Linked DNA regions of Homo sapiens: all the other regions are linked to region 3. Evidence: promoter capture Hi-C in 16 types of primary human blood cells and fetal thymus (Javierre and others, 2016). All regions are on one chromosome and are shown on one strand. The core of a region is centred on a gene start or on the middle of the fragment in contact, and the rest is flanking DNA. Distances in the headings are between cores, read along the strand shown.

Region 1 (2,905 bases), core at 280-2,779, 300 kb before region 3:
TTTGAACAGACATTTCTCAAAAGAAGACATGCAAATGGCAGACATATGACAAGGTGCTCAACATCACTGATCATCAGAGAAATGCAAATCAAAACTACAATGAGACATCATCTCACCCCAGTTAAAATGGCTTATATCCAAAAGACAGGCAATAGCAAATGCTGACGAGCATGTGAATGACAGACAGCCCTTGTATGCTATTGGTGGGAATGTAAATTAGTACAACTACCATGGAAAACAGTTTGGAGGTTCCTCAAAAAAACAAAAAATTGAGGTACCATAGGATCCAGCAATCCCACTGCTGGATATATGCCCAAAAGAAAGGAAATCAGTATACTGAAGAGATATCTGCACTCCTACGTTTGTTGCAGCATTATTTATGATAGCTAAGATTTCAAAGCAACTAAGTGTCCATAAACAGATGACTGGATAAAGAAAATGTGGTACATATACACAATGGAGTACTATTCAGCCATAAAAAAGAATGAGATCCAGTCATTTGCAACAACATGGATGGAACTGGAAATCATTATGTTAAGTGAAATAAGCCAGGCACTGAAAGACAAACACTGCATGTTCTCACTTACTTGTGGGATCTAAAAATCAAATCAACTGAACTCATAGACACGGAGTGTAGAGGATGGTTATCAGAGGCGAGGAAGAGTAGTGGAGGATTGGAGGGGGAGGTTAATGGGTATGAAAAAAATAGAAAGAATGAATAAGACCTACTATTGAATAGCACAATAGGGTGATTATAGTCAACAGTAACTTAATTGTATATTTTAAAATAACTTAAAGAATGTAATTGGATTATTTGGAACTCAAAGGATAAATGCTTGAGGGGATGGATGGCCCATGCTCCATGATGTGCCTATGTCACACTGCATGCCCGTATCAAAATGTCTTATGTACCCCATAAATGTATACATCTACTATATACCCACAAAATTTTTTAAAAAATAATTTTAAAAAAATTTTAAAAAGAAGTGTTGGACTAAATTTCCTCTGTTATCCTTTCTAACTCTATACTTCTACAATTTGTTTTAATCAATACCACAAATTATAAGCAAAGAAGAAATATTTATACCTTACATGATAATGTTTTAGAATCCTTAACACATAATGTTTAATAAAAAGAATGTGCCGGGCCGGGCCTGGTGGTTCAGGCCCGTAATCCCAGCACTTTGGGAGGCCAAGGCGGGCAGATCACAAGGTCAGGAGATTGAGACCATCCTGGCTAATGTGGTGAAACGCTGTCTCTATTAAAATTACAAAAATTAGCCAGGCATGGTGGCACGCACCTGTAGTCCCAGCTACTCAGGAGGCTGAGGCAGGAGAATCACTTGAACCCGGGAGGCGGAGGTTGCAGTGAGCCGAAATAGCACCACTGCACTCCAGCCTGGGTGACAGAGTGAGACCCCGTCTCAAAAAAAAAAAAAAAAAGTGCCAATTTTTAATGCAGGAATAAATAAAAAGGCAATTTATTAAAAATGCAAATAATGAATAAAATATTTTTTAAATTCACCATCAACTAGTAAAAAGAAAAGCCAGTTAACAGTGAAATACCATTATTGGGAAATCCTTAAAAGATTAACAGCCAATGTATAAAAAATGCTTACTATCATGGAAAGATGTTTCCTATAGTATGAAAAAATTAAAGTATAAAACACAGTATCCAGAATATGATGTCTAATATGCACAGAAAATGTCTCTAGACAGATAATATACTACAATTTTAACAGGGGTTAGTTTTGAAATCAGATTATAAAGCTGGGCATGGTGGTGAGCAATTATATTCCCACCTACTTTAGAGGCTGATGTGGGAGGTTCCCTTGAGCTTGAGACCAGCCTGGGCAACATAGTGACACCCTGTCTCTTTAAAATAAAAAATTTTTAATCAGATTATGAAACAATCAACAGACTATGATGTCATATATGTACAGAAAATGTCTCTAGACAGTTGTATACCATAATTTTTGTAGGAATTATTTCTGTTACCAGTGATTACTTTCTTCATTATTCTAATCAGGTATGCTGATTTTAAAATGAGTTCACAAATTCCTTAACACTCCTCCTTCGAAAGGCAGAGCCTAATCCCTTTCCCCTTGAATGGGGGTCAACTTCACCCATTTGATTCTAAAGGACAGAATGTGGCTAAAGTGATGCTATGTGACATCTGAGACTAGGTCATAAAAAAATATATAGCTTCTACTCGGCTCTTTCTTCGGGGGAAGCCAGCTACAAAGTCATGAGGGCACTCAAGTAGACAGTGGAAAAACTCATGTGAAAAGGGACCAAGGCCTCCTGACAACAGTCAGCACCAACTTGCAGCCATGTGAGTGAGCCTCCCTGAAAGTGGATTCAAACTTTCGGATCACTGCAGCCTCAGCTAAAATTCTGACTGCAATTTCATGAATAGTTCTAAGCCAGAGACTGCTAAGCCATTCCCCAATGCTTGACTCACAGAAATGTGAGAATAAAAGGTTTATTACTTAATAATAAATATATGTACACTTCATTTTATTGCATTTCACTTTATTGCACATTGCAGACATCGCACCTTCTACAAGTTGACGGTCTGTGGCAACTCTGTCGAGAAAGTCTATCGGCACCATTTTTCCAACAGCATGTGTTGGCTTTGTGTCTCTGTGTCACCTTTTGGTAATTTTCACATCTGAAACTTTTTCATTATTATTATATCTGTTACGGTGATCTATAGTTACCATTGTAATTGTTTTGGGAACCATGAGCCACACCCATATAGGATAGCATATTTCATTGATAAATATTGTGTATGTTTTGATTGTTCCACTGACTGACTCTTCCCCTTGTCTCTCTCCCTCTCCTTGGGCTTCCCTATTCCCTGAGACATAACAATATTGAAATTAGGCCAATTAATAACCCT
Region 2 (3,027 bases), core at 412-2,911, 330 kb before region 3:
CTGTAAGGTATGACAATAAGGTATGAAAGCCCAGTGCTGTGGGGAGAGGCAGGGTTGAAGAATTATCACTTGGTACATGTCTCCTCTTTCTCCTACACTCCAACTTTTTTACAGGTAAAATCAGATTTTAAAAGCCTATTGGCAGGACATGGTGGCTCATGCCCATAATACCAGTACTTCTGGAGGCCGAGGTGGGTGGATCACTTGAAGTCAGGAGTTCGAGATCAGCCTGGCCAACATGGTGAAACCCTGTCTCTACTAAAATTACAAAAATTAGCTGGTAGTGGTGGTGCATGCCTGTAGTCCCAGCTACTCAGGAGGCTGAGGCAGGAGAATCCCTTGAACCCGAGAGGCAGAAGTTGCAGTGAGCCAAGACTGTGCCATTGCACTCCAGCCTGGGTGACAGAGTGAGACTCCGTCTCAAAAAAATAAAAAATAAAAATAAAAGCATATCAAAGGCCACTTTGAAGACAGAAAGTCTTCTCACACACACACACATACACACACCCCACATAATATGCAAAAGGCAGAAAGGAGGGAAAAAATGATCCCCGCTTCTTTACCTTACTGAAATGCGAAGTGTCAGTGGAAGAAAGAACAAGATCAAGTTGTGTGTGTGTGTGTGTGTATGTATATATATATATACATACACACCTATGTGTATATGCTACCAGTCAAAATCATCTCTCCTGTGAATAGCCAACCCCTCAGTTCCAGGTGACTATCCTCACTCACTCTTTCCCAGAATGAATATGAATCATGCCACCACTTCTTTTGCCAAAGCCTAAGAAGCCAGCAATACCATTCTAAAACTTTGGATTTCAAGATACACTATAAATAGTAAAGTGTTTCATGGTGCTGATTCAAATTCTAGGTCAGAGAGATGTGGATAACACCAATAATCTAGATAGACTTTTTTTAACCCTGTTGAAAATATTTTGAGTTATCAGACTACAACTGCAATAAAAGGAACAGCCCGGTAACTGATGTAAGTTAACAAGCACCTGATTTGTTACTGTCTGTGGTAGGTAAATGGTATCACATCACACATGTTGATTTGGACTAAAGAGTTGCTAATTCTTATTCTAAAGGGATCTTTTAAATTCACAATACCAAAGTCTGTCACAGCCATTGATTACAAAATTAATCTGCAATTATTAGGGTCCTTTTTTGTGAATCTTAAGAGATTTACATGCACACAAACACTATCAAGAGGCAACTCTCTTCGCTTTTCTCATAAACATATACACACACATTCATATTCACACCCAACCTTATACTTTTCCTCCTGATTCAGAGAAAGTTCTTTCTCCCTGGCATCTCAATCTCTCCTTCTCCAGTGCTGCCTCCTCCACAACATAAAAACATGATCAAGTTCCCCTTTTAACTTTGCAACTCCCTGGCTATTGTCCCTTCTTTTCTCCCCTTCACTACCTGACTTTTAAATTTTTTTGAAATTTTTATTGAGATACTTTTAGATTCACATGCATTTCTCAGAAATAATACAGAATCCCTTATACACTTTGCTCAGTTTTCCTCAGTGGTAACATTTTACAAAACTATAGTATAATTACACAACCAGGATACTGACATTGACACAATTCACCAATATTATTTAGATTTCCCAGTTTTACTTGTACGTGTGTGTGTGTGTGTGTGTGTGTGTGTGTGTGTGTGTGTTTTCTATGGAATCTCATCACCTGTGTAGGTTAATGTATGCACCCAGTCAAGATCCTGAAAAGTTCCAACACCACAAGGATCCCTCCTGTTGCCCTTTTATAACTACAACCACCTCCCTCCCACGCCCCCTTCCCTAAATTCTGGCAACCACTCTGTGTCCTCCATTTCCATAATTTTGTCATTTCAAGAATGTCATATAAATGGAATTATACAGTATGTAACCTTTAGGGATTGACTTTTCTTCACTCAGCGTAACTGCCCAAAGTTTCATTCAAGTTGTCATGTGTATCAATAGTTTGTTCTTTTTTATTGTTGACTGGTATTCCAAGGTATGCATATAGCATAGTTTGTTTCTACCTGGCTTTTTAGAAGAGTAGTTTGCTTCTCTACTTTTCATGTTTCATTCCTCAATCCACTACAATTTGACTTCTGCACATACTGCTCCATGGATATCTCATATGCTGATTGCATATTCAATGGACAATTTTTAGTACTTACCTTTCTCAAGTAGCTGACACTACTGACTCATCTCTCCCCTAAAACGCTCTTCTCCTTTGGCTTCTAGTCAAACCATTCTCTCCTGGTCGTTTTATACAGTTTTTCAGTCTACTTTTGTAGACTCTTATGCCCCTTATCCCCGTCCTTAATGGTGAAATCCTCCCAGCATTCTATCTTCAGTGTTTTCACTTCTAAAATTCTACACACCCTCCCAGTGTAATTTTACCCACACTTATAACTTCTATTGCCCCCTGTATGCTGAAGACTCTGGCCAAGATCTTTCTCTTAAATTCCATATGGATATTTTCAAATGCCTAAATGTTTTATCTTCTAAATTTAATGTCTAAGACTGAACTCATTACCTCCTTCCTCTGTATGACTGACCTAATTCCAACCACCTCCTTTCCTTCCTATAATCTCTATCTCTATGAATGGCATCACATCTATTTAGTCATCTCAAAACTTCAGACTCATCTCTACTTCTTTTCCTTCACCCTCCATAGCTAATCAGTCTCTAAGTCCCATCAACTCTATCTCCGAAATATCTGAGTTTATGCCCTCCTCTTACTCCTCACTACCATTTCTTTAAGCTCTTATAATTTATCATTTCTTTTGGATCAACAACAACAGCTTGTCCCTACTTCTGGTATTTCAAGGCCATTCTCCATACTTCTGCCAAGGTCCTCTTACTTAGACACCTATCACAAATCTGATATGTCATTCCTGCATTAAGATCTTACAATGGCTCCTCACTGTCTATGTGATAGAGCCTGACTTTTTAGCACAACATACAAAGCCCTTCAAAATCTATCTCTTGTCTACCTCTCCACCTTCTCTCACCTCTGGCAC
Region 3 (2,893 bases), core at 331-2,830:
GAAAAGTGTAGCCTTCCCTCTCCAGAAGGGCCCCAGAGACGCTAAGGGCTTGCTCAAAGAGCGTCTTCTCTTCCTCGTCCTCCTCTACTTTCTCGGAGTCCTCAAGGCTTTTACATTTCCCTTCGCTGTTTTGGTTTTCCTTGCACTGGGTCTGCCTCTTGTGCTTCATCCTCCGGTTCTGAAACCACACTTTCACTTGTCTCTCAGTCAAATCCAGCAGCGCTGCAATCTCCACCCTTCGGGGTCTGCAAAGGTACTTGTTGAAATGAAATTCTTTTTCCAGCTCTAGAAGCTGTGTGTTGGTGTAAGCAGTTCTCAGGCGCCGCGATCCCCCGCCGCTGCCATCGGCGATTTCCAGGGATTCTGCGGAAAGGGAAACCAACAAGAGACACACGCACAGTTGGAGGTGGAGGGGTCCGAGCGGGGTTATTCCACTGGAGAATAAATATAGCAGAAAAGATCAACTGCAACAAAATGGCCGCCCCTGGATGCAGTAGAGCTATTGTGCTGCCTTTCCTGGGAGCCCAGCCTGGGCAGACCCCGTCTCCTCCATCTCTATCGAATTCATGCCTGTGGCTCCCCCCAACCTCTTCATCCGGGAGCAAACTTTATATTAGCCACAACACAATTTATAATTAATGCGTCAGCTGCTTAGCTGAGCAAGAGCGATCTATCACTCTTCATTACTGTCAAAAAGCCAAACTCTAGGACAACTAGACAGGAGGAGGTCAGTTCCAACTCAAATAAATCATCCCACATTACACAAGTTCGGGAAAGTTTCCCCCCACTTCCTAAAAATATATATGTCTCATTGTAGAGCGCAGGATCCCCTTTCCTCTCCATCAAACCCACTCCTGAACCCACAGGGGCAGGGACAAGGCAACCAAGCATCTCTCCCTCTCCTCCTTCTCTCCCAGCCCACTCTCCCCTCCCCCCACAGCCACTCTCGGGGCAGCCCGGAGAAGGAAGAGGGTCCCAGAGACCTGGGGCCAAGTCTTTGGACTGACCTTTGTGGCTGAGGCAAGCAGGGCCGGTGGCTGCGGCGGTGGCGGCGGCGGCGGCGGCCGGCAGAAGTGCGGTTTTCTTGGCCGCCTTCTTCTCCTTCATCCAGGGGTACTCGGGCGGCTGCAGGGCGCCGGCGGGCACCGGGCTGCCGCGGCTGCCCGCGGGGCTCGGCTTGGGGCGGCCGCCAGCGCCGTGGCGAGGGTGACTGCCGGGGTTCAGGCTGGGAATGGTCTGCTCAAAAGGAGGAGGAATCAGTGTCGAGTGTGAAAGCGTCGAGGTCTTGATTGATGAACTTTGAAATGTATCAGCGACAGGGGGAAAAGATGTCAGGCACTCAGCGAGCGACGGCTGGCTATTGATAAAACCAATCTCTCGCTCAAATTCGTAATTCATGGCCTTCTCCTTGGAGCCCCCTCAGAGAAAAAGTTCCCTCTTTTGGAGGGGCTTTGGGGGGGCAAGGCCTAGGAAAAAGGCGAGCGCAGAGGAAAAAAAATCTATCATAGAATATCGCTGCTAGGGTGTTTTTTTTCTAATTCACTGATTACAGCCGTATGGGGACCGCGCTACTATTAAACTATTGAATTCATGGAGACAAGGTTGAAATTGGACCGAATTGGCTGTCACATGATTGCTTCTGCCCAATGACAATTTGGGCTTTAATCAAAAGAAGCCACTGTCTGTTTGATTGATCCAAAAAAGTCGGGAAGGAACGCCTCATTGGGGGCCAGCGAGGCTTTATTTACACTTTTTTCAGAGCAAAAATACATATATGTTGGTGTGGGTGGGGATGTCCCGGAGTACGTGGGGGCGAGGGTGCCTGCGTGCCTCCTGATCTGCAAGGATCTATCTAGTGTGTGTGCCTGGGAGTGTGTGTGTGTGTGTGTGAATGTGCGCGAGTGTAAGCCCTGCTGTCGGTCCCGCCGGTGGCTGCCCTCTGCCTCCCCCGCACACTCCGCGCATTGTTTGGGACTGTCGGGAAGACGCCTCGCACCTCACAAATCATTTAAGCACCTCAGTCTGACGCCTGCAGTCATTAACAAAGTAATCCATTAATCTTCAAAGTTTTGACACCCGAGGGCCCTGCGTCCCAGCCACATAAGTTCTGTTAAAGCAGGAGAAAGGAGCAGAGGAAGAGAGGAGATGAGAGAGGGAGAATAAAGAGAGAGGGAAGAAGAGAGAGTTTGAGAGATGGAGAAAGAGAAGACAGAAAAGAGAGAAGAAAGGAAAGATTTTGGTTGGGAAGGGGTCTTCCTTTTCTTTCCCTTTTCCTCCTTCACTTTTCCTAAAAGCAGTTCCTGGATCTCAAAACTGATCTCTCTCGGTCTGTTTTCCTTCCTGTCTGTCCCTTTCCCTCTTTTTCCTCTTCTCCCCCTTTCTCCCTCCCTCTCTCTTCTGTCCGCCTCCCCTTCTCCCCTCAGCCTCTCGCCCCCCTCCCAGTGTCCAGCCCAGAGTCTGCGCCCCGGGCCCATTGTTAGCAGGCTATTCCACGGCAGCTTTGCATCTGGCTCCGGCGGGAAGCGGAAAACGGGAGGCGGCTCTCGAAGCTTCCCGACCTTCCTGCGCCATCAACTTCTCAGGAGTGGCTGGAGAAAGATGCATGTGCCAAGCGAGACAACAACCCCAGGTCCATGTGTCCAAATCCCCGTAGCCAGGGCGGCGGCCAGCCAAAGAAATGCCGCCCCGAGCAGGCGCGTGCGGCTCCTGGCATTCTGGGTTTCATACCCGTAGGGCTCGGGTGCGGTGAGTATTTCCGATTTCCAGGAAGTCTGTTGGAAGTTACCAGCAGGGAAAGAGAAGATGCTTGCTCCTCTCTTTCCCTCCCTCTCTCTTTTTTTTCTACCCTTCTTCTTGTCCTTGTCGCTCTGGTTGGGGGCTGGTTGGTTTAGAT

What was found. Contacts are between HindIII fragments. The CHiCAGO score rates a contact against its expected background, and 5 or more counts as called.
Region 1: a contact is called between a fragment that was not itself captured here and the fragment with the promoter of HOXA2 in region 3, in 1 of 17 cell types (neutrophils). The highest score is 5.3, in neutrophils.
Region 2: a contact is called between a fragment that was not itself captured here and the fragment with the promoter of HOXA2 in region 3, in 1 of 17 cell types (neutrophils). The highest score is 6.3, in neutrophils.

Annotation. Positions count from the first base shown.
Region 1 is chr7:26,803,313-26,806,217 of GRCh38, forward strand. All of the region lies in intron 4 of SKAP2 (src kinase associated phosphoprotein 2), which reads right to left. It overlaps LOC124901606 (a long non-coding RNA gene), which reads left to right and starts at 2,250. Exons shown (of 3, transcript XR_007060265.1): 1 at 2,250-2,335. The HindIII fragment of the contact is 3,407 bases long and covers 1-2,905 here.
Region 2 is chr7:26,773,891-26,776,917 of GRCh38, forward strand. All of the region lies in intron 4 of SKAP2 (src kinase associated phosphoprotein 2), which reads right to left. Among named protein-coding and RNA genes, the nearest start is that of SKAP2, 89 kb to the right of the region's middle. The HindIII fragment of the contact is 3,443 bases long and covers 1-3,027 here.
Region 3 is chr7:27,101,103-27,103,995 of GRCh38, forward strand. It overlaps HOXA2 (homeobox A2), which reads right to left and starts at 1,581. Exons shown (of 2, transcript NM_006735.4): 1 at 1,008-1,581; 2 at 1-363. The coding sequence starts at 1,398. RefSeq lists an enhancer at 1,416-2,255. The HindIII fragment of the contact is 6,069 bases long and covers 1-2,547 here.